Regions from separate parts of the Homo sapiens genome. Here regions 1 and 2 are each linked to region 3. Evidence: promoter capture Hi-C in human tissues and cell types (Jung and others, 2019). All regions are on one chromosome and are shown on one strand. The core of a region is centred on a gene start or on the middle of the fragment in contact, and the rest is flanking DNA. Distances in the headings are between cores, read along the strand shown.

Region 1 (4,003 bases), core at 162-2,661, 940 kb before region 3:
GTTGGGTTTTTCTTCTATGGAATCCCAAAAATATTGTCATTATTTTACATTACAACCACTTACTCGGAAGACAGTAGTAACAGCAACTAGACTACAGAACTGGACTTCTGGAGCCAAAAGTCCTAGGAACAGATTTACTATGTGACACTGGGCAAGTCATCTTGGGGTGTGAAAGGCAGGGACTAAGTGACTCCCTTCTTCCCTGATGTTTATAACTTCATTGTCAAGATCAAGGTGGCACACAGGAATGGCTTACAGGTTCACCTGAGCTTGGGAATCTTTTTGTTTCTGAGAGTGTTACAAAAAGGACCAGAAATCCTTTCTGTGCCACTGGGAAGTCCAAATTACAAAACCACAAGAGGAAGTTGGCTCCCAATGCCCACAGTGTGTATGTAATATAAAACAGGTTATACTATATTTAGCTATGAATATATGTGTGCATACATTTACACACACAAACACATATGTACTTATACACATTTTTACATATACACATAAAAGATACACATGGGGTATACACATGATATATATGCTATATATAGTATGTGTGTATGTATATGTGTGCGTATATACTTGCATATGTGTATATAAGACATTAGCTAATTTCTTTCTCTATTAGCCTCAAATATTTTTGAATGAAAAAGGTCTAGACATAAGTAAATACATTTTTAGAAAGGATTAAAATACAAACAAGGAGCTTATAAGCTACTTAACTTCCCAATACGTTGTTGTTATTTTCTTTCATAAAGGACAAACTATATTTAGTTTCTTCTCTACTGTCTGCTGGTAATTCTCCTTCAGGAAAGAAACCTCAGATGTACACTACACTAACCAGGATGCCTCAGGTTAGAGTTGAAGGAGCATAAACAGTCAGATAATATGAATTTCAGATCTGGCCTCTGCCTCTACACTTAGGTATCAAATAATATGAATGTGTTGTTCCCTGAGTCTGAACATGGAACTATAAGATGGTGATAGCAGTGACCAACACACAGTATAGCTCTCTAAAGGGTAGTAGTTAGTCCCTCTCTCACTTGACCTACCTGTTATACCTGCACACACACACACACATGCATGCATACACATACAGACACACTCAAGCATGCACATACAATTGCATACATTCTCACATCTCAAACATGTAAGAGCCAAGCACAATTGGTACATTTGGTCGAACCACATAGGTGACTTGAGAAGGAAATGAAATTCAGCTGAAACACCCTGAAACCATCACTTGACTAAAAAAATTGGCCTGTTAAATTTAGTTCACCAATCGGTAGAACCAACCTGAAACCTCATCGTTCTTGGCTATCCTTTCTAAAGCATTCTTGATTTTTTCTTAAAGAGTTACATCACTGATCTCTCAGGTCCCTTCTCCAGTGCACTGTGGTTCTCTAAAACCTTCCATCTATTTGATTACTTGCTCTTTAATATGTTTTTCAAAGAAGATAACAATATCTGAGAAAGGTAGATTAGCTGGTTGATCATAAAAATGGATGTCCTGGAATTTGTTCTTCCTTTATTCATTCTGGACAAGTTTTAAACTAATGAAGTAAATTTTGAAACTACCGTACAAAAGATGATGAGTCCTCTTGATGGAGAATATTTTTACTAGCTTTGTAAATCCCTCAGTCCCCAAGCCAGGCCTGTCTCTTACGCTTCCCTTAATGTGTTTTAACAGAGATGACTCAAGTGAAAGCAACTAATCTCCTCTTTAGGGGATAGCGTGAAACACAGACTGATGAGTATCAGCTCCTTGAAAACATAAACCCTTGACTGGTCTGTCTTGTGGAACCCCACAGCATCTAGGCCAGCAGTTCCTGTGTCCTTTACTGCCTAAATGTTATAAATCTTAAATAGGTAAAGAGGAGAAGTTTTGTGGAAAAGATGTGGTTTGTGGATAAAGAACACTGAGTTTAGAGTTTTCAATTTGGGCTCTAAATTTTGAAATAGACTAATAGAATTGTGTCCTTAGACAAGACTACCCTCTATAAAATGGTGGTGACAGGCCAGGCGCAGTGGCTCATGCCTGTAATCCCAGCACTTTGGGAGGCCGAGGCAGGCAGATCACCTGAGGGTGGGATTTCGAGACCAGCCTGACCAACATAGAGAAAGCCCATCTCTATTAAAAATACAAAATTAGCTGGGCGTGGTGGCACATGCCTGTAATCTCAGCTACTCGGGAGACTGAGGCAGGAAAATCACTTGAACCGGGGAGGCGGAGGTTGCGGTGAGCTGAGATCACACCATTGCACTCCAGCCTGAGCAACAAGAGCAAAACTCCATAAAAAAAAAAAAAAAATGGCGGTGACATCTGCCTTGCCTTCCTACCTTACAGTGTAGGGTTGTAGTGACAATAGCTGAATATAGTATGAGACCACATTATCAATAGTAAAGCTTTGTACAAATGAAGGCTTTTTTGCACTTTGTAGTAATTTCACTTGTTTATCCCTCCAGGCCTATTTCAAATGTTTCCTCCACTGTGAAACCATCCCCAATTATTTTAGGCAAAATGAATGAACATGTGTCTTCATAGTACCCTACCAAAATTACAATCATAACATATATCTCCCTGATGCCTACAGTCAGGCTGCGTCAATTAACTTTTGCCAATTTCCCGCTGCAATACAAACCACTCCAAAACTCAGGGGCTTAAAACCACAATCATGCATCTTCACTCATGAGCTGGGATGGCTCTGTGTGTCTTTCATCCTCCCTCTGGGACCATGGGCTAGCCAGGGCATATTCTTCTCATGGCAAAGCCAATAGTGAAAGAGGGTGAGCAAAAACACACAAGGCCTCTTGCAGCCAGGCTGGGGACTGATACGTTGTCACATCTGCTCATATGCTAGTAGCAAGGCCAATTCAAGAGTTGGACACAAGGTGAAGAATTGGGACTAATCATGCAATCTTTCATACTAATTCACATGCTCTGTTAGATTAGGAGCCCCTGGCTGGAAGAGTGGGGGCAGGAACAAAGCCTGCTTCTATATCACCTGCCCCTTTGCCAGGGACTGGTGAGTAGTAGATATTTTATTGATTTTTGCTGAGTTCCAAAGGGTCTTCCCAACCCTTTCCTTTATAGCAAGGGTTAGCATGCTCTGACTAGGGAGGCAAACCTGGCCTGGTTGTATGCAGCCAGCTAAACATATAAAATGATTGCAAAAAATAACAATAGTAAGAAGGAAAATAATATTTAATGACACGTGAAAATTATATGAAATTCACTCAGTGCCCATAAATAGAGTGTTCTTGGAACACAACCACACCCATTCCCTTGTGTGTTGTCTATGGCTGCATTTCATCTATAATAGCACGGTTGGAGTTGGAGTTGGCATAAAGTATGTCCCCTAAAGCCTAAAATACTTATTCTCTGGACTTTTGCAGAAAATGTTTGCCATCGGCTCCTGTATAGGATAAGAAACTGAGAGTCCTGGGGAGGTGAATATAGGCCTCACTACAGAGTGGCTACAGAGTTGTTAGTTGAATTATCCCTGTATTTGTTATATGTTAATATCTTCCCTTTTTGTTCCCTAGTAATTGAAGGCCTGAAACGCCCATGTGCCACTGACTAGGAGGCTTCCCTGCTGCGGCACTTCATGACCCAGCGGCGCGCGGCCCAGTGAAGCCACCGTGGTGTCCAGCATGGCCGCGCTGCTCCTGGGCGCGGTGCTGCTGGTGGCCCAGCCCCAGCTAGTGCCTTCCCGCCCCGCCGAGCTAGGCCAGCAGGAGCTTCTGCGGAAAGCGGGGACCCTCCAGGATGACGTCCGCGATGGCGTGGCCCCAAACGGCTCTGCCCAGCAGTTGCCGCAGACCATCATCATCGGCGTGCGCAAGGGCGGCACGCGCGCACTGCTGGAGATGCTCAGCCTGCACCCCGACGTGGCGGCCGCGGAGAACGAGGTCCACTTCTTCGACTGGGAGGAGCATTACAGCCACGGCTTGGGCTGGTACCTCAGCCAGATGCCCTTCTCCTGGCCACACCAGCTCACAGTGGAGAAGA
Region 2 (3,898 bases), core at 392-2,891, 720 kb before region 3:
GAACAATAAATAGGTATCTGATAAAGTTTCAGATTGTGATTGTGTGCTATGAAGAAATCTCAGATGGGGTAAAGGATCACAGGGTGATGGAGAAGTGCCCCTTTAGAAGGCACGGACAGGGAGGGCCTCTCCAGAGGGTGGCATTGAGAAGAGACCTGAACAAAGTGTTCAGCTGTTAGTCACTTCAAATCTTACTGAGTCCCCAGTGCAAAAAGCCTGGTCATAGATCTTAGCAATAAGCTTAATAAATTAAGAAATAGGACAGAATCACAGGAGTCCGCATAGGGCACTCTTCCTTGTCAATCTCACATGAAACTCTTTCTTTCTCTCTCTCTTGCATGCCCCATTTTTCTCCCTCAGAAATCATTTATCTGAGAATCATAGAATGTGCAATTGCAGAAAAATAGGATGTTACGAACAGAAAGAATTTTATGGGGGTAGAAATCATCTCCCACCACTCACAAACAGCAATTAACTCCATTAGCAAAGTCTCCACATTGTAATTGCCCAAACCACATTTGATCTATTTGCACAGTGAGAAACTCCCAACCATGAAAGTTGTCAATTATGCTGGCTAACTTCTATCTGTCAGTCATAGGTATGGCCGCTGGACTCAAACTGGACAAATACAGTCCTTTCCCTTCTACCTGTTGACCCTACAGACATCTATGTCCAGGTGAAAAACACATCTACTTTTCCTCAGTGTTGCTGTAGAGTTGCCTCATACCCATGCCTCCTTCCTCTGAACCACCTACCCCATTGACGGTTCTCCTTTGCTCTTTTTGGTTTATTTATTTATTTTCTTTCTCTGGAACTTTGCTAAGGATTCACCATAAACCAGGGGCCTGTAGCACATTCTTACAATTTTATGTCTTGGCATCTAATTTGAATACAAATTTAACTTGCTCATACCAGAAGCAGGACTCAGCCACCCTTGACATAGTTTCCAATTCTAAAGCCAAACTCATATGGTTCAAGGTGGTGGCCGGAGATAACCACTAGCAGACTGGGCTCCCCACTTTCCAGCCATTTCCTTTAAACAGACCATCCAGGCCTTTCCCTGTGACCTTAAAGTGGTCCACACCCCATTCCCTCATGTACATTGCTCACTGCCACATGTGTGCTCTCTCACTCTATGTGACTTCTTTCCTGCCTTGTGTGACTCAGGGACAAAGGACTTCCCTTCAGACTCATTGCACCCTCCCCTGCCCAGGATCTGTAAGTAAAAATCTTTAAACCTTTTCCTGTTATGGCGGTGGATGAAATTTGCACTTTCTCTCTGAAGAACAAGGGTTGGCTTTTCCCAACCCAGTTGGGTTTTCCCAGGGATGCCAAGGAAAACACAAGGTTGGACTCCCAGCATCAGGTTGATGGTCCAGCAGGCATAAACTGGACAGGGTGCAGGCAAGAGCGACAGGATCCTGCCAGTATAAATATGTTCCCCATGTGAGGAATCCCCTGGTTCTGAGTTAAACAGCTAAACATTAGACTGCCCACCAGGCAAAATAAGTATCCCATGAAGAACATGCTTCAATCTCCTATGTCCAGCTCCCCTTCGTATCCCATTAGGGCAGGGCTGCAAGCCACTCAGATACTGGCATTCAGTATAGATGCATGTGCTCAAAACATGGGTTCACAAGGAACTAAAACATCAGATCAATAAGACATAGTTCCTGATCTTAAAAAGTTAACTTCTATCGGCCAGGTGCGATGGCTCATACCTGTAATACCAGCACTTTGGGAGGCCGAGGGGGGTGGATCGCCTGAGGTCAGGAGTTCGAGACCAGCTTGCCCAACATGGTGGAACCCCATCTCCACTAAAAATACAAAAAGTAGCCGGGTGTGGTGGCACACACCTGTAGTCCCAGATACTTGGCAGGCTGAGGCAGGAGAATTGCTTGAACCAGGGAGGCAGAGGTTGCAGTGAGCCGAGGTCGTGCTACTGCACTCCAGCCTGGGTGACAGAGCGAGACTCCATCCCCCCCCGCCAAAAAAAAAAGTTATCATCTATCAGAGAAAATAAAGAACTTTTGGAACAAACCTGTCACAATGTGAAAAGGATTATTTTGGTAGAGAGAAGACAATGAGCTCTAGAAGAAGGGGAAAAGCCATGGCAGAGATGATCAGAGCCAGTCAGCACATGGCAAGGGTAAGTTATTTCAAACAGAGAGCACGAGGCACAGAGGCAAAGGCAGGCTCATGTGAAAAGCACATGGGGACTCCAACTTGGAACTGAAATTTAGTATGTCTGAAGACGGTCCCATAAATCATGCTGGAAAACTAGGTATGGAGAAGCTTCATTGTGCCAGACCATTCCATTGAGTATAACCAAGATCAAGGTAAGTTTGGCCATACATTGACCATAGGACAATCCTCATACAAAAGAGGATTTTTACTCCATTTGTTTCTGGAGACTAAAGACTATAATTATGCTTTCTGAGATGCATTTAAAATGGGGTTAGATTTCATCTCTTCATCCATTGTATCACGTGACTTTATCCAGTTCAAGGTCATAACTCCTTGAGAACGGGGACTAAAATATGTTCCCCTCACACCTCATGAAGGGAATAGCAATCATGTAAGTATAATAATTATAATAATAACGTGTTTGGCATGGTCGAATTTGCAGAACGATGTCATACAGACTATTTACTTTGAAGAGTAGACTTTTTCTTCATTTTATACATCAAGAGAGTTGATGGGGGTTCAGAAACATCACCCGGGCAGTCCCTATGATACAAATAGCAATTTCTAGAGGCAGGGCTAGAATGCAGGTCCTCTGGCTCCAAGCTAATGAGATTTCCTCAAATGTTTAGTGATTATTTTCCTCAGAGAGAGTAAATTTGGGTGGCGGAAGGAGACATAAAAGAAAACCACCTATTATTCTATGACCAGTGGAGCTACCAGACACTACACTACATTTATTTCTCATCTATGACCCATTTGCATTGCAATCACCAGGTTCTTGTAGAAAGGGTCTGGGAAGTCTAGGAGCTGCTGTCAGCTTCTCGGAGGCTCTTTAGCCTATTTCTGAGAATGTGGCTGCCTCTGAACGCAGGCTGTGCAACATGCTTCAGTGAGCATGGATAAGAAGCATGGACTTTGACTTAGATTACTAAAACCCATATGAACAGTCCTCTCTAAGGCAATGTCCTGTCAAGCAGTTTGGATAAAATGCTGGCCTTAAAGATACTAGACATGAGTCCTTTTGTCTAATTTTTTCCTTAAGAAAAGCACAAGATGAAGAGAGAATTGTCATTTAATGCCCTATAAGAAGGTGTTATATCATAATGTTAACAACTAAAATATTGCCAAGCTAAAGAATGTGATTAATATATAACTCTAATTCTTAAAATTAACTTTTGTGATAGGCATTTTGAATCCCCATTTTATGACTGAAGAAACTGCCAGAGAAGAAAAAATGAACAAAATATTTTAAGACCACTTGCTATAGTTTAGACATTCTAAGAGATTTACAGTTACAGTCATGTATCTCTTTTTTTTTTTTTTTTTTTTTTTTTGAGATGGAGTCTCACTCTGTCACCCAGGCTGGAGTGCAGTGGCACAATCTCGGCCCACTGCAGACTCTGCCTCCCAGGTTCAAGTGATTCTCCTGCCTCAGCCTCCCGAATAGCTGGGACTACACGAACATGCCACCACACCAGGCTATTTTTTTTTATTTTTAGTAAGGACAAGGTTTCACCATGTTGGCCAGGATGGTCTTGATCTCCTGACCTTGTGATTCACCTGCCTCGGCCTCCCAAAGTGCTGGGATTACAGTTGTGAGCTACCACGCCCAGCCTGTCATGTGTCTCTTAACAATGGTGATACATTGTGACTATGAGAAATGTGTTGGTAGGTGATTCCCTTGTGGGAACATCATAGAGTATATTTACAT
Region 3 (3,960 bases), core at 231-2,730:
GGACAATTTTCTAATGTCTAGACCTCAGATTCTCCAATACTTAGAATTAATAGTTTTTCCTGATGTGGCTCTGTTTGCCACTAGAGATTTTCAGGCAGTGGCTCCTAGTTTGGATTCTCAATGCCTTTCCCAACTTGACCCTACTCTTGAGGGAGACTTTGAACTCTCTGGCATATTCTCTCTGATAGGTGCTATCTGCACATAAATGTGTTTTTCTGAGAAGAGGTTCCTTAGCTTTTCTGAGCCCTAGGAGATAGAAAACCAGGACCCTAGCAGCTCCCTGATCAGGACCGAGGTTAGGAGCACTGCAGCCTAGGGCAGGAAGAAGGATTTGCTCTCTGGGCTGCTATTTTCTCTGCCCAGCTCCTGATACTTTAGTGGTGGAGGTTTTGCCCAGCTGCTGGACTTGTGGCTGAGCCTGTCTTCTTCAACTCCGCTTCTCCGTGTGGCAGTACTGCCCAGGCCCACATCTCCTCCGTGCAGCATACTGGCCGCTGTCCGTGCACGCCGACCTTTGGCCGCCAACAGGAAGGTGATGGAAACCAGCCTTGCCCCGCCCCCGCCTCCAGAGCTTTGAAATAAACTTTAGCTGTTCATCCCGAAGAAACTGTACTTCCCAGTGACGCTGCTCCCATGCCTCAACCTGCCCCTGCTGGAGAGCTGTTTCACTTTGTGGGGAGTCACTGATTGTGCGGGACCTGGCAATATGGTCTTCTTCTTTCCTCTTAGAGGCTCTATTCTAAATATGTCTTCCTTCCGGACCGTAGATGCAGGTGTATCTAGAGGGCAGTTGGCTCGCCCAAAATAGCACCGAAGTCCAGGAGGCAGGAAAGAAACTCTGGCATTAAATGAGCTCACACCCTCTCCAGACTCCCACAGTCATTGTCCCCTCTGACCCTCGCAACGCCCAACTGCTAGAGGAGGCTTTGCGCCTCACATACGACCTTCCCCGTCTTCAGAAATGAAGACACTGAGAGAGGTCAGGGGACTTTCTCGCCAAGGTCCAGCAGCTAAGATGTAAAGGAGTAGGGAGAGTCAGGATTTGTACCCAGGACTTCAAGGCCATCTCCTTCACTGAAGCTCTCCAAGAAGACGAGTTTGGAGGCTGAGGACCTGAGCTCCTCTTCTCTCGCTTTCACTCACCCACTGCAGGACTGCAGGCTCCAGGGAGGCAGGCGCCAAGGCCGCCCTCCGCGGGACCCGGTACAAGGCAGGCGCCCCGGGATGGCAGACTGGGCCAGGACCGAAGCCGAATCCTTCTTTTGCCTGCGGCATGGCTAAATGTGGACCTCGCTCGCTACGGTGCGAACGTGTTGGGTCAAGCTCTAAGCCCAGAAGTGGGGCTCGGCTGGGTCTGAGGCTCCCCGCTCTGGACAGCTTAGAAGCCCGGCGGGGGCGGGCGCAGCCTTAGAGACCTCAGGCGCCGGCCTCGCTGGAGCCGCGCCGCCGCTTCACATTGCGCACGCGCGGGGCTGGCGCGGGCTCCGCCCCCCGGGTAGGGACCTACAGCGGGCGCGGCGCCGGCGGTCTGCGGCCGGCGGTGTAGACGCCCCTTCGCCGGGACCTGGCACCCGAATCCGGCCTGCCGGGTAAGTAGCTGAGCGGGAGGGCGAGGGCCCCCGGATCCGCGTGTACGTGACCGAAGCGCCAGCTGCGGCCGGGTCGTGGGGGCGCGCGGGGCGGGGGCCTGACGGGGCCAGGCCGGGGCGGGTCGAGCGGCCGCGGCCCCGCGTGCCCGCGCTGAGGGCTGGCGTCGTGGCAAGTGGCACCGGGTAGGCCGAACGCGGGCTCCGGCTGGTGGGCGTGGGGCACCGGCTGGGGTGGGGGCCCGGGCCGCGGCTTGGCGCGCGTTGAGCAGGTACGCGGGCCTGGCCTAGGGTCGGGGTCCGGCCCGGCGCCCCCAGCTCGCCTTTGTGCGCCGCGACCCCGCGGACTCGGCCGACGCGCCGGGGCGACCGAGGCGGGGGTGGCAGCGTCCCGCGGGGCCGTTCGTGTGGCGCCGCTGGCCCGGCCTGCGCTCCCCGCCCCCAGCGTTATGAAGGATGCCTCCTCCGAGGGCTCCTACCGTCCGCGCCGAGCAGGAAGTGTCGTCAGGAGGCCATTTTTAAAGCCTCCTGCGGGCCTCGGAGCTGAGCGTTGACGGTTTTGGTTTTCTTCGGTTGGAAGAACCCCGGCCTTCCCTCGCGGCGAGCGGGACGCGCCTGGGAGACGACGATGCGCCCGATGCACCTGGCCTCGTCCTCCGAGCGCCCAGGCTCAGGCGCGCTCGCCTCGGATGCTGCCTGCCATCGGGGGAGCGTGCCGACAATAAACTCGAAAACCAGCCTGGCATTGTCTTTCCTTGAGAGGGTCAGGGGTGGGCTCGTCCATCGAGGTCCTGCGCATCTTTTACGGGGGGCGAGGACATAGGAGGTTGAGAAGAGATGGTGAAGGTTTGAATTGTTCCAAATGCTGATGTCATTGTGGGACCTCCCCATACCGGCCTGCCCGTCTTATCTTGGTGTCTTTGGGGTTTGGGGCTCTGTAAAGCCAAGAAATTGCAGGGTTCAAAAGAATGAAAGTTTCTTAACCAGAAAGGAAAAGCCAAAAGAGCGAACGGGAGAAAACACTTAAGTCTTTATAAGTTGGGTAGTTAATGTATCCCGTTACAATACCTCTGACTTTAAAAATTGTAATAATGAACGATTTATCAACGTAACATTAAAAAAAAAAACTACAGAGCATTATGTCCTATTTAAAAGTACAAATCTACGTAGCTAAACTCTAATGTTGTGTTAGACTCTTTAAACCATCTTAAGTTTAGACTTGAAATCACCAAGAATTAAGACAAACCTGGGTCTCTAGAAGCTTGCAGTACTCTTCTACAGTAGAGCAGAGACTGAGGATGGGAATACATCTCTTTTCTCTCTCTTGAGTCACATATGCAAAGTTCAGCCCAGCATATGATGTCAGTACACAGCCAAGGGTTCAGAAAATATTGTTTTAGAAACCAATGTTATATACTGTTGTCTCTTTGAGTAGAATACAAATAGTTCTTTTTTAAAATTGTGTGATATTGATATCTTTAACTAGGATGCAATTTTTAAAAGTTACTTTCATCTTGGATCAAATTTAGCCTTCAAAAATAACACTTTTTTGCGTAGACAGTTTGCTATGCTGATAACATTCATTGCAAATGCAATTTGAAAAGAGCAGACAAAGGATGGCATTCCTTTATTTATTGGGACTCCTTTCTGATGTATTATACCCGATCTGAAGATCTTAAAAATGCAAAATGGCAATTAAAAAAATCCATTTAGATCTCTAGAGATTTATTTGCCTTTAAGTAAGGGCATCGGGGCCAGTTTTTGTGCAAAAGGAAGAACAAAGAACATTTTATTTTTGTCTCTGTGAAGCCTGCTCTTTCATTCATTCATTCACTCATTCTTTCAACCAGTACGAACCTTATTGAGTGCCTTCCTTGGCCAAACCCTTCGCTATTGATCATGATAAACAAGATCCTTACCAGGGAGGGTTTCCCCAATCATGATTGTTCTCAAACTGCCTGCTGTCTACTGCATTTTCTTTGTTATGCAAACTCAGCTAACTGCAATTTCCAGGATTCATCCTTGGAGTGAAAGCAGCTACAGATCAGCCAGTCTAAACATTGTCATCATAGGGTGAGGGTGGGGAGGCATCAAAATCAACTAGGGAGAATTTTAAACCATATGCCTGAGCCCCACCCTAGGAAATGGTAACCTGATCTGCTAGGTTGCATGTGAGTCCTGGGAATCCTTTTTAAGTTCCGTGGGTGACTTTGCCATACACCCCTGCTTGAGAACCACTTCTGGGGCTCATTCCCCTTATCTTCAACACTCTGAGAAACCAAGGCTGTGCCGGTCCAGGACTTAAACCCAAGTGTTTGGCTTCTGTTGCAGGCCTCTTTGTGCAGCGCCTTGCTGACGCCCAGGGTTCTGATGT

Evidence for each region. The method cuts DNA at HindIII sites, captures the fragments that hold promoters and counts their contacts. A contact is called where the count stands out against the background at its distance.
Region 1: a fragment that was not itself captured here is called in contact with the fragment with the promoter of ZNF518B in region 3 in 2 of the 25 tissues and cell types used here (dorsolateral prefrontal cortex and lymphoblastoid cells).
Region 2: a contact is called between a fragment that was not itself captured here and the fragment with the promoter of ZNF518B in region 3, in 1 of the 25 tissues and cell types used here (H1 embryonic stem cells).

Annotation. Positions count from the first base shown.
Region 1 is chr4:11,399,648-11,403,650 of GRCh38, reverse strand. HS3ST1 (heparan sulfate-glucosamine 3-sulfotransferase 1) reads left to right here. Exons shown (of 2, transcript NM_005114.4): 2 at 3,538-4,003. The coding sequence starts at 3,646. Among named protein-coding and RNA genes, the nearest start is that of HS3ST1, 27 kb to the left of the region's middle. The HindIII fragment of the contact is 8,106 bases long and covers 1-4,003 here.
Region 2 is chr4:11,177,242-11,181,139 of GRCh38, reverse strand. No RefSeq gene overlaps it. Among named protein-coding and RNA genes, the nearest start is that of MIR572, 190 kb to the left of the region's middle. The HindIII fragment of the contact is 3,768 bases long and covers 1-3,525 here.
Region 3 is chr4:10,454,946-10,458,905 of GRCh38, reverse strand. It overlaps ZNF518B (zinc finger protein 518B), which reads left to right and starts at 1,480. Exons shown (of 3, transcript NM_053042.3): 1 at 1,480-1,589; 2 at 3,918-3,960. RefSeq lists a silencer at 1,365-2,004 and enhancers at 2,135-2,294, 1,557-2,372, 2,355-2,414. The HindIII fragment of the contact is 10,057 bases long and covers 1-3,862 here.